2 separate regions of the Homo sapiens genome follow, and region 2 is linked to region 1. The links are contacts of gene promoters, found by promoter capture Hi-C in blood cells and fetal thymus (Javierre and others, 2016). All regions are on one chromosome and are shown on one strand. The core of a region is centred on a gene start or on the middle of the fragment in contact, and the rest is flanking DNA. Distances in the headings are between cores, read along the strand shown. Region 1 holds the start of SAMSN1-AS1 (SAMSN1 antisense RNA 1). Region 2 has its middle 120 kb from the start of SAMSN1-AS1.

Region 1 (3,672 bases), core at 659-3,158:
CTGCAAAGATCTTGTTTTTTTCCGCTGTTTCACAGTGGGCAGGAGTGAGTCATTTATAGATATTTCTGAATTCAATCCATTTTGCTGTATTTTGAAGTAAAAAAAAAAAATGGTAAAACCACTCTGCTTTAGTATGCCTGGCCAGTTGTAACATATTTTATAATTTTGAACCCAAAAAGTATGGTGTGCTTTCAAGTTAGTGCTTAAATTGACTCAGGCTTCAGGTTTTAAGGTCACATTATTAATTTTTCCACATTTATGATCTCAACATATTTTATATTTAATCTTTTGTGAGGAATAATTTGTCTTTACCTTGAGCTGTGTTTGTGCTAGGCCATAAAATCAGGCAGTGACCCTGTGGAATCAATGGGGACATTAAAGCGACTACAGAAACTGGTTTGGACTAAGAAAGCCAGAGTGCAGAATCTGGATGAGGTGAAACCGACATTAATAAACCTCCGTAAGTAAGAACTCAATAAGCTGTTAAAACTCCTTTGAGGGAGAACTAAGGAAGCATACGTTAATGAAGCCCATTTTGATAAAGTCTTAAGATAATCATTAAACATTGAGGATTTTTTTTTATTGCCAAGTTATTTTAAAACAGACATCCCCATCTGTTCCTGAATTTTACCCCGTATTTATGCACCGCCCCGTTTCTCCTTGCCTTCAAGACCGGGCTCCGAGACACAGTGAGAGAGAGCAATGGAGGAAGCTCAGCAGTGTCCACTGTCGCCATTCCTTGGCCATAGAAAACAATGTATTTGAATTTTGATGTAAGCATAACAAATTGGTATGTCCATGGCATGCAACTTTGATTTTCATTTATTTATTTATAATAGCATGCCTTAAGTAATCGAACTCTTTTAAAAATACCCATTAAACGTTTGGATTTAAAGGGATTCCATGACATAGAGCAATTGACTCTGGGTGATATATATTTCTATTTTCTGTAACTGTTTTCTACATTACTAGAAATTTCATCAGAGTCTTTGCCACATTGTGTAAATATAGATCTCACAAATGAACTTTATGGTATTACAGATATGGCTTTTTTAAATTTTTGTCGTTCTTGTTTTTTGAAAACCATTTCACTGTGAGACACACTGCATCCATACATCTCTTGGTAGATTGATATTAAAATAGACAATTTCAGAATGTCAGTAGGATTTCAGTCCAAACCACTGAGATTTTATTCTTTTAAGTAGGGCAAATAATTTTATTTATTTCCTTATAATTCTTTATTATACACATGACCTTAAAAATTAAAAAAATATTTAAGAATAGAAACATAAGAGGTGGGTTTTTTAATTGTATTTTTTTCTCAAATATCTTTCAGCATATTATTTGTATGTGGCCTCCATTCTTTCCAGTGAGATAGAATTTAATCAATTGTTATGGTTTCAAAAATGTCAGAAAAATGCGACTTTTACAAAACAAAAAATTTTATATAGCAAAATAACTTGCTTTTTAAATAAATGCTGCTGTAAATAATTTTATAAAATTGAATGACTTCTTGGTTTATCCATTGCAGTGTATTTATTTCTCTTATATAAATGGAAGAATAATTCCTATATGTGAAGAATTATAATCATAGTTTTTAACCTATTTCTTTGTCATTCAGAAGATGAAGATGACACGTTGATTTCTTGTTTGAAATTAACCAAGTCCCGAGAAAAGAAAGTGAATAGTGTTAGCACGAGGAGGAAGGAAGAAATGGAGATTAGATTGGATACTCTTTCTGCATCACTGGGTAGATCCAGCACTTTAAATAACTGCAACTTGGAAGATAAATTAGCTTGGTATGAAGGTGAAGCTTACATGTGGCATCACTGGAAGCCTTTTCCTGAAAACCCTCTCTGGACATGTCTTGATTTCCAAATAGCACAAGTTGGACCCTGGGACCACTGCTCCTCTTGTATTCGCCACACACGTCTCAAGTCTTCCTGCTCAGATATGGATCTCCTACATTCATGGGTAAGTTTGCAGACTACGGAAATGTGTCATCTTATCTGGGGTTTTGTACTGTCGGGAAAGAAACAGATAGCAAAAGTGCTAATCAGTGAAATTTATCAGTTTCAGAAAAGTTACCAGAGCAAGAGTTGTCTTTCCAAAAAGCAACCAAACTCTTGTGACTTTTACCCATATTAACATTTCATATATTCCTTTGTGTACAAATTAATGACTGCATAAAATTTTTCCAGGGATTTCTTTTTGATTGAAGGAAGACTTCGTGTGTTGACTGAGATCAAGAAAATGTGAAGTGAACTGTCTAAATTATTGCAATTATAATGAAATTTCACTGAAAAATAATAGCTAATTTTAATGAGCATTTTATTTGGGCCTGCCATTTTCCTAAGCATTTTATATGTATTATCTCATTTAAATCTCACATCAACTCTATAAGGTAAGGACTTACATTATGAAATATTACCTTAAGAAATATTATTTTTGGCCAGGCACGGTGGCTCATGCCTGTAATCCCAGCACTTTTGGGAGGCCGAGGCGGGAGGATCATGAGGTCAGGAGATCGAGACCATCCTGGCTAACAAGGTGAAACCCCGTCTCTACTAAAAATACAAAAAAATTAGCCGGGCGTGGTGGCGGGCACCTGTAGTTCCAGCTACTCGGGAGGCTGAGGCGGAAGAATGGCGTGAACCCAGGAGGTGGAGCTTGCAGTGAGCCGAGATCGCGCCACTGCCCTCCAGCCTGGGCGACTGAGCAAGACTCGTCCTCAAAAAAAAAAAAAAAAAAAAAAAAAAAAAAAAGAAATATTATTTCCCCTCATTTTACAGTTGAGAAAATGGAGGCACAAAAAGTTGGTAACAGGTGCAAAGTCAGACAGCTAACAGGAGGTAGAGCCAAGACCTATAACCTAGGTCTTGCTTTTAGCTAGAGCTCCTGCTTTTAGCTACTACATTAGAGTGTTTTCCATATACGAGGGCAGACTCTAAGGCTATTATGTGATACGTGAGAAAGAGTATGCTCTCTGGAGTCAAACAAATTTGGATGGATTCTGGCTGTGCTACTTTTTTTTTGGGCTTGGATAAGTTATTTAAACCTTTTAATCTTAACTTTCTTAACTAAAAAATGGAAATAGTCAAGAAGCTAAAGTCAAATATTATAAATCTTCTAGTACTTAAGAGTGGTACTTTTTTTTCAATTTCCTTGTAAATTGCTCAAGGCATGTTTTATAACTTTACCTACAGCTCCTCTGGTCATGTGTGTTTTCAGTGAATGAATGGGACAATTCTGTGTATCCAGGGAGCCTACTCTCTACCATTTTCCTCAAAGAATCAGTCTCTTCTTAGACAGAAGCTACATTTTATAACATATTTAGAGGTCTCTTAAAAGGCATATTTTCTCTTGGAACTTTTTTTGCCTTTTAAGATTTGTGCATTAAGTCTGCAAAGACTAGAATTAAAGTAACTTGTGTTCAAAGTGCCATAGTAAATATAACAGGTATCTGATAACAGACTTCGAACTGATGAAACTGACCAACATTAATCATTTCTAAATATCCTCCTTCTTCTTTAATCTTCATCTTCTTTTCTGGGACTGCTGCACTTTGCAGGTTTTCTCTTAGAGTAGCTTCTTGGAGAGTAGCTGGTAATATAATTAGGACGTGCTTCTGATGACTCCCTCTGATATCTTCAGAAGCAGGATCAAGGCTGA
Region 2 (3,672 bases), core at 359-2,858, 120 kb before region 1:
TTATTACCTAAATGCATTTTATTCAGTCAATCTGTAATATTTATTGAACTTTTATATTCTCCCTTTTGCCAGAAAATTGGAATTAAGGGGAAAACATTTTTTGTTGCCCTCAGAATATTGAAAGTCTAGTTCATTGACAGTTACAAAAATATATGCTATAGTAAAGGGATATGTAAAGTCCAACAGAAATGTAGGAAGATAATTTAACTTTTCTGGAGTACACTAAGAATAACTTCACAGAAGCAATGTTTGAATTGAAACTTAATGAATGAGTAGTATTTAAAGGCAGGAAAGTTTGAGAATATCCTAGACAAAAGAATCAAGGCATAGTAGAGCTTATAAAGTAACTTATTTCTGGAGAAAGACTAGGAAGGGACTATGAGACTGAGCAAGAAGGCAATGACCTCACCAAGCAAACCCTTGCATGGCTTCCTAAGGAGGAGCCTGTGTATCATTGTGGGGACAATGTGAGAGACATTGAATAATTCTGAATAGAGTATGACATAGTTAGATGTATATTTTCGACAGTGTGATGAGTGAAGAAAGACTATAACCAGAGTCTGAGTGACCAATGAGGAGACTATTGTAATAGTCTATATTACAACTCAGACTATGACAATGGAGAGGGAGAAATAACAGAGATTATCTCCTCGTTCAAACATTACTCAAGCTTCTCTCAACTCTTTTTCAACTAGGCCTTAACTCTTGGACTCTGTGGTTGCCTCTGCATTGTCTAACTTTAGCAAGAATCCTAAAAGGCCAGTTTATTCATCCTTAACATGTATCTCACCACCCTTGATTTCTGATCAAATTCTTTATCCTTCACCCTCCCCAAGGTGGTGTCTGAACATCCTAGCCTGTCTTCAGGAAGGATCCTGTGTGGTTGGTTTAGCCAGAACTTCCTCTTTACCCTTATGTTTTCTTTCAGTAATTTTCTATGTACTGGCCTCCATCTTAATCTTTGGCTATAAATTCCCACTTTTTCTTGTTATATTTAGAGTTGAGCCAAATCTCTCCCCCCATTGCAAAGGCCCATTCCAATGAGCCCTACACCTATCAAAACAGTCTCCCTCTGAATAAAATCGGCTTTACCATTTTTAAAAAGTGTCCATTGAATATTTTTTTCCCTAACGAAGAAGAGAGAAAATATTTTCAGGAAGTATTCAGGTGTAAGGATGCAGGGGACCGCCATAGACTTATCTATATTCATTCAGCTTGGGCAAAGTGAGAATGAATTGTTCTTGACAGAATTATTTTCACTACTTTAATAAATAATTACTTGTCATGTTCATAAAGTAGAAATAGTTAGTAGTCTTCTGTACATCAAAAGTATGTTTGGGCTAAGAACCTAGAGAAGAATTCTATTGAGCATTTCAGAATCAACATGGAGAAACGCAGGCTAGTCTTCATTAAAGTCTGTGCAGAGAAATGATTCTGAAAAGTACTGTTAAGACTGGTCTACAATATAAGAGAATTGCCCATGAGTTATGACCAATTTATTTCCTCTATAAGGAAAGTGGATATAAACAACACATTCCTCACATGTGGATAGGGTGAATTGCTGCCTACATCACATGGTTTAGAGAGCAAATTAAAAACCCTTTCCTGGCTGGGCGCGGTGGCTCACACCTGCAATCCCAGCACATTGGGAGGTCGAGGCAGGTGGATCACGAGGTCAGGAGATCGAGACCATTCTGGCTAACACAGTGAAAGCCCAAGTCTGTACTAAAAATACAAAAAATTAGCCGGGCATGGTGGTGGACGCCTGTAGTCCCAGCTACTCGGGAGGCTGAGGCAGGAGAATGGCGTGAACCTGGGAGACGGAGGTTGCAGTGAGCAGAGATCGCATCACTGCACTCCAGCCTGGGCGACAGAGAGAGACTCCATCTCAAAAGCAAACAGACAAACAAACAAAAAACCCTTTCCTGCCCCTGTTCTTTCTGGTGTCTAAAAATTCTCACCATTGTAGTAGAACCTTGCATTTGTGGTAAGAAGTTGCCTGTGTCGGGAGAAGACACTGAAGATATTGCTGGGCTCTTTAGTGAAAATGAAGAGTTGGGAAAGATGAGGTCAAGTCTCATCGAGAATACAGAAACCTACATGAGTATGAGGAGGCCCTTTGCTGAATATCCAGTATGAGTGTGGTTTAATTAGCAGACAGTCGGTCACATTATGGCTTACTGAGATCTAATCCCAAGATTCTCAAATGCTAATGTCCTCACAAATATCTGATGATCTTATTAAAATACAGGTTTTGATTTGGTAGGTTTGAGATGGGACCCAACACTCCATATTTCTAACAAGTACTAGGTGGATATTACACTGCAAACACTGGTCTAAAACAGAACACCAGGAAGTGTGGAATAAGAGGACCAGAAGTTAAGAAATGGATCACCCCCACAGGGTTCTGAAGGAATGAGACACAAGGGCGGTAATTTGGGGGATTGTCAGGTACAGAAAATTTTATGTCTTCTTATGTAAAGGATGCCTCTGAATGTCATTCATCTGTATGCCAAAGAGAAACTGGTTCCTTTGACCAAAGCTTTATTTCTGTGAACATTGCCAACAAGGTATGTAAAGCATACTTGCCATGCATTCTCAGAAACCTTCTCTTTTCTGAGAGTAGAGGTTTAAAGGCATAGATAACTTGCTATGTTTGTAAGCAAAAATGCCCTCCCGATGACTTTAAAAAGGTCTGTAGCCAGATCCACAAAGCCACAAACTATAAGAAATTTAAAATGAAGAGAAACTATTTACAAATGTAAGATTCAAAGAATTCTCATCTCAAAAATACTTCATTCTACTCCAATTACTGGCATGTTTTCAGTTGAAATGTGCTTTTATTTTTTTTTTGAACAATCTAAATAATTGTTCACATTTTCCACTTCATGTAGACACATCTTGATTATAATTAGAAGAAAAAATGCATCTGGTTGAATAGAATCCAAGGTGTAAAGCTGAAGTGAAGACATTAGGGATAGGTGACAGAACACTTAAGGTACAATTAAAAGATTGCCTCTGGCTATATTTATCATTGTCCCTTCTTGCATAAAAAATAGTGGTTTATTTTTAATGAAAGACTAAAATTTTACAAAACATTGGCACTTTGGACAACAACAATGCAAACAAATGGAAATTTTACCTGGCCTGAATTCAGCCTTAAAAAAAAATACAAAAAAAAACAAAAAACAAAAAAACTCTTATTCATTGTTTAAGGACAACAATTACTTTAGTTAGGTCAGTTTATTTAGTTATTTTATATTTTAAGTAGATTTAGAATATATGACCATGTACTTTTATCTGGCTTTGAAAATTAAGTCTGTGGCTCCGTTCCTGCTAAACAGCAGCTCCCTGAACTTGTTCCACAGGCAGACAGGCAGAGTATAAAAAGAGGATTAAAACTGCTTTCTGTATCCTCAACTTTATCAAGGATAGCACAGAAATCTCCATCATTCATATTGCCTAGAGAGTTCTAAAGCATTAACAATTTATCTAGCTTATGTATAATAAAAGCTGTGAAGTATATATTTTTAATGCCAATCACCAAGTCCAACCATAATGCAAAAAGTTGTAAGGCAAGTTTAATTGGTACAATTCCTGCTGAATGAATAAAATACAACGTGCTTGTAGAAAAGCTGGTGTCCAATAAACTTGACAATAAAAATCTCATCC

The links. Contacts are between HindIII fragments. The CHiCAGO score rates a contact against its expected background, and 5 or more counts as called.
Region 2: a fragment that was not itself captured here is called in contact with the fragment with the promoter of SAMSN1-AS1 in region 1 in 7 of 17 cell types (activated CD4 T cells, total CD4 T cells, neutrophils and 4 more); the score reaches 9.4 in activated CD4 T cells.

The regions. Positions count from the first base shown.
Region 1 is chr21:14,580,438-14,584,109 of GRCh38, reverse strand. SAMSN1-AS1 (SAMSN1 antisense RNA 1) reads right to left here and starts at 1,908. Exons shown (of 5, transcript NR_046512.2): 1 at 1,819-1,908. It also overlaps a transcript of SAMSN1 not described here. The HindIII fragment of the contact is 2,204 bases long and covers 1,816-3,672 here.
Region 2 is chr21:14,702,049-14,705,720 of GRCh38, reverse strand. No RefSeq gene overlaps it. Among named protein-coding and RNA genes, the nearest start is that of SAMSN1-AS1, 120 kb to the right of the region's middle. The HindIII fragment of the contact is 1,872 bases long and covers 673-2,544 here.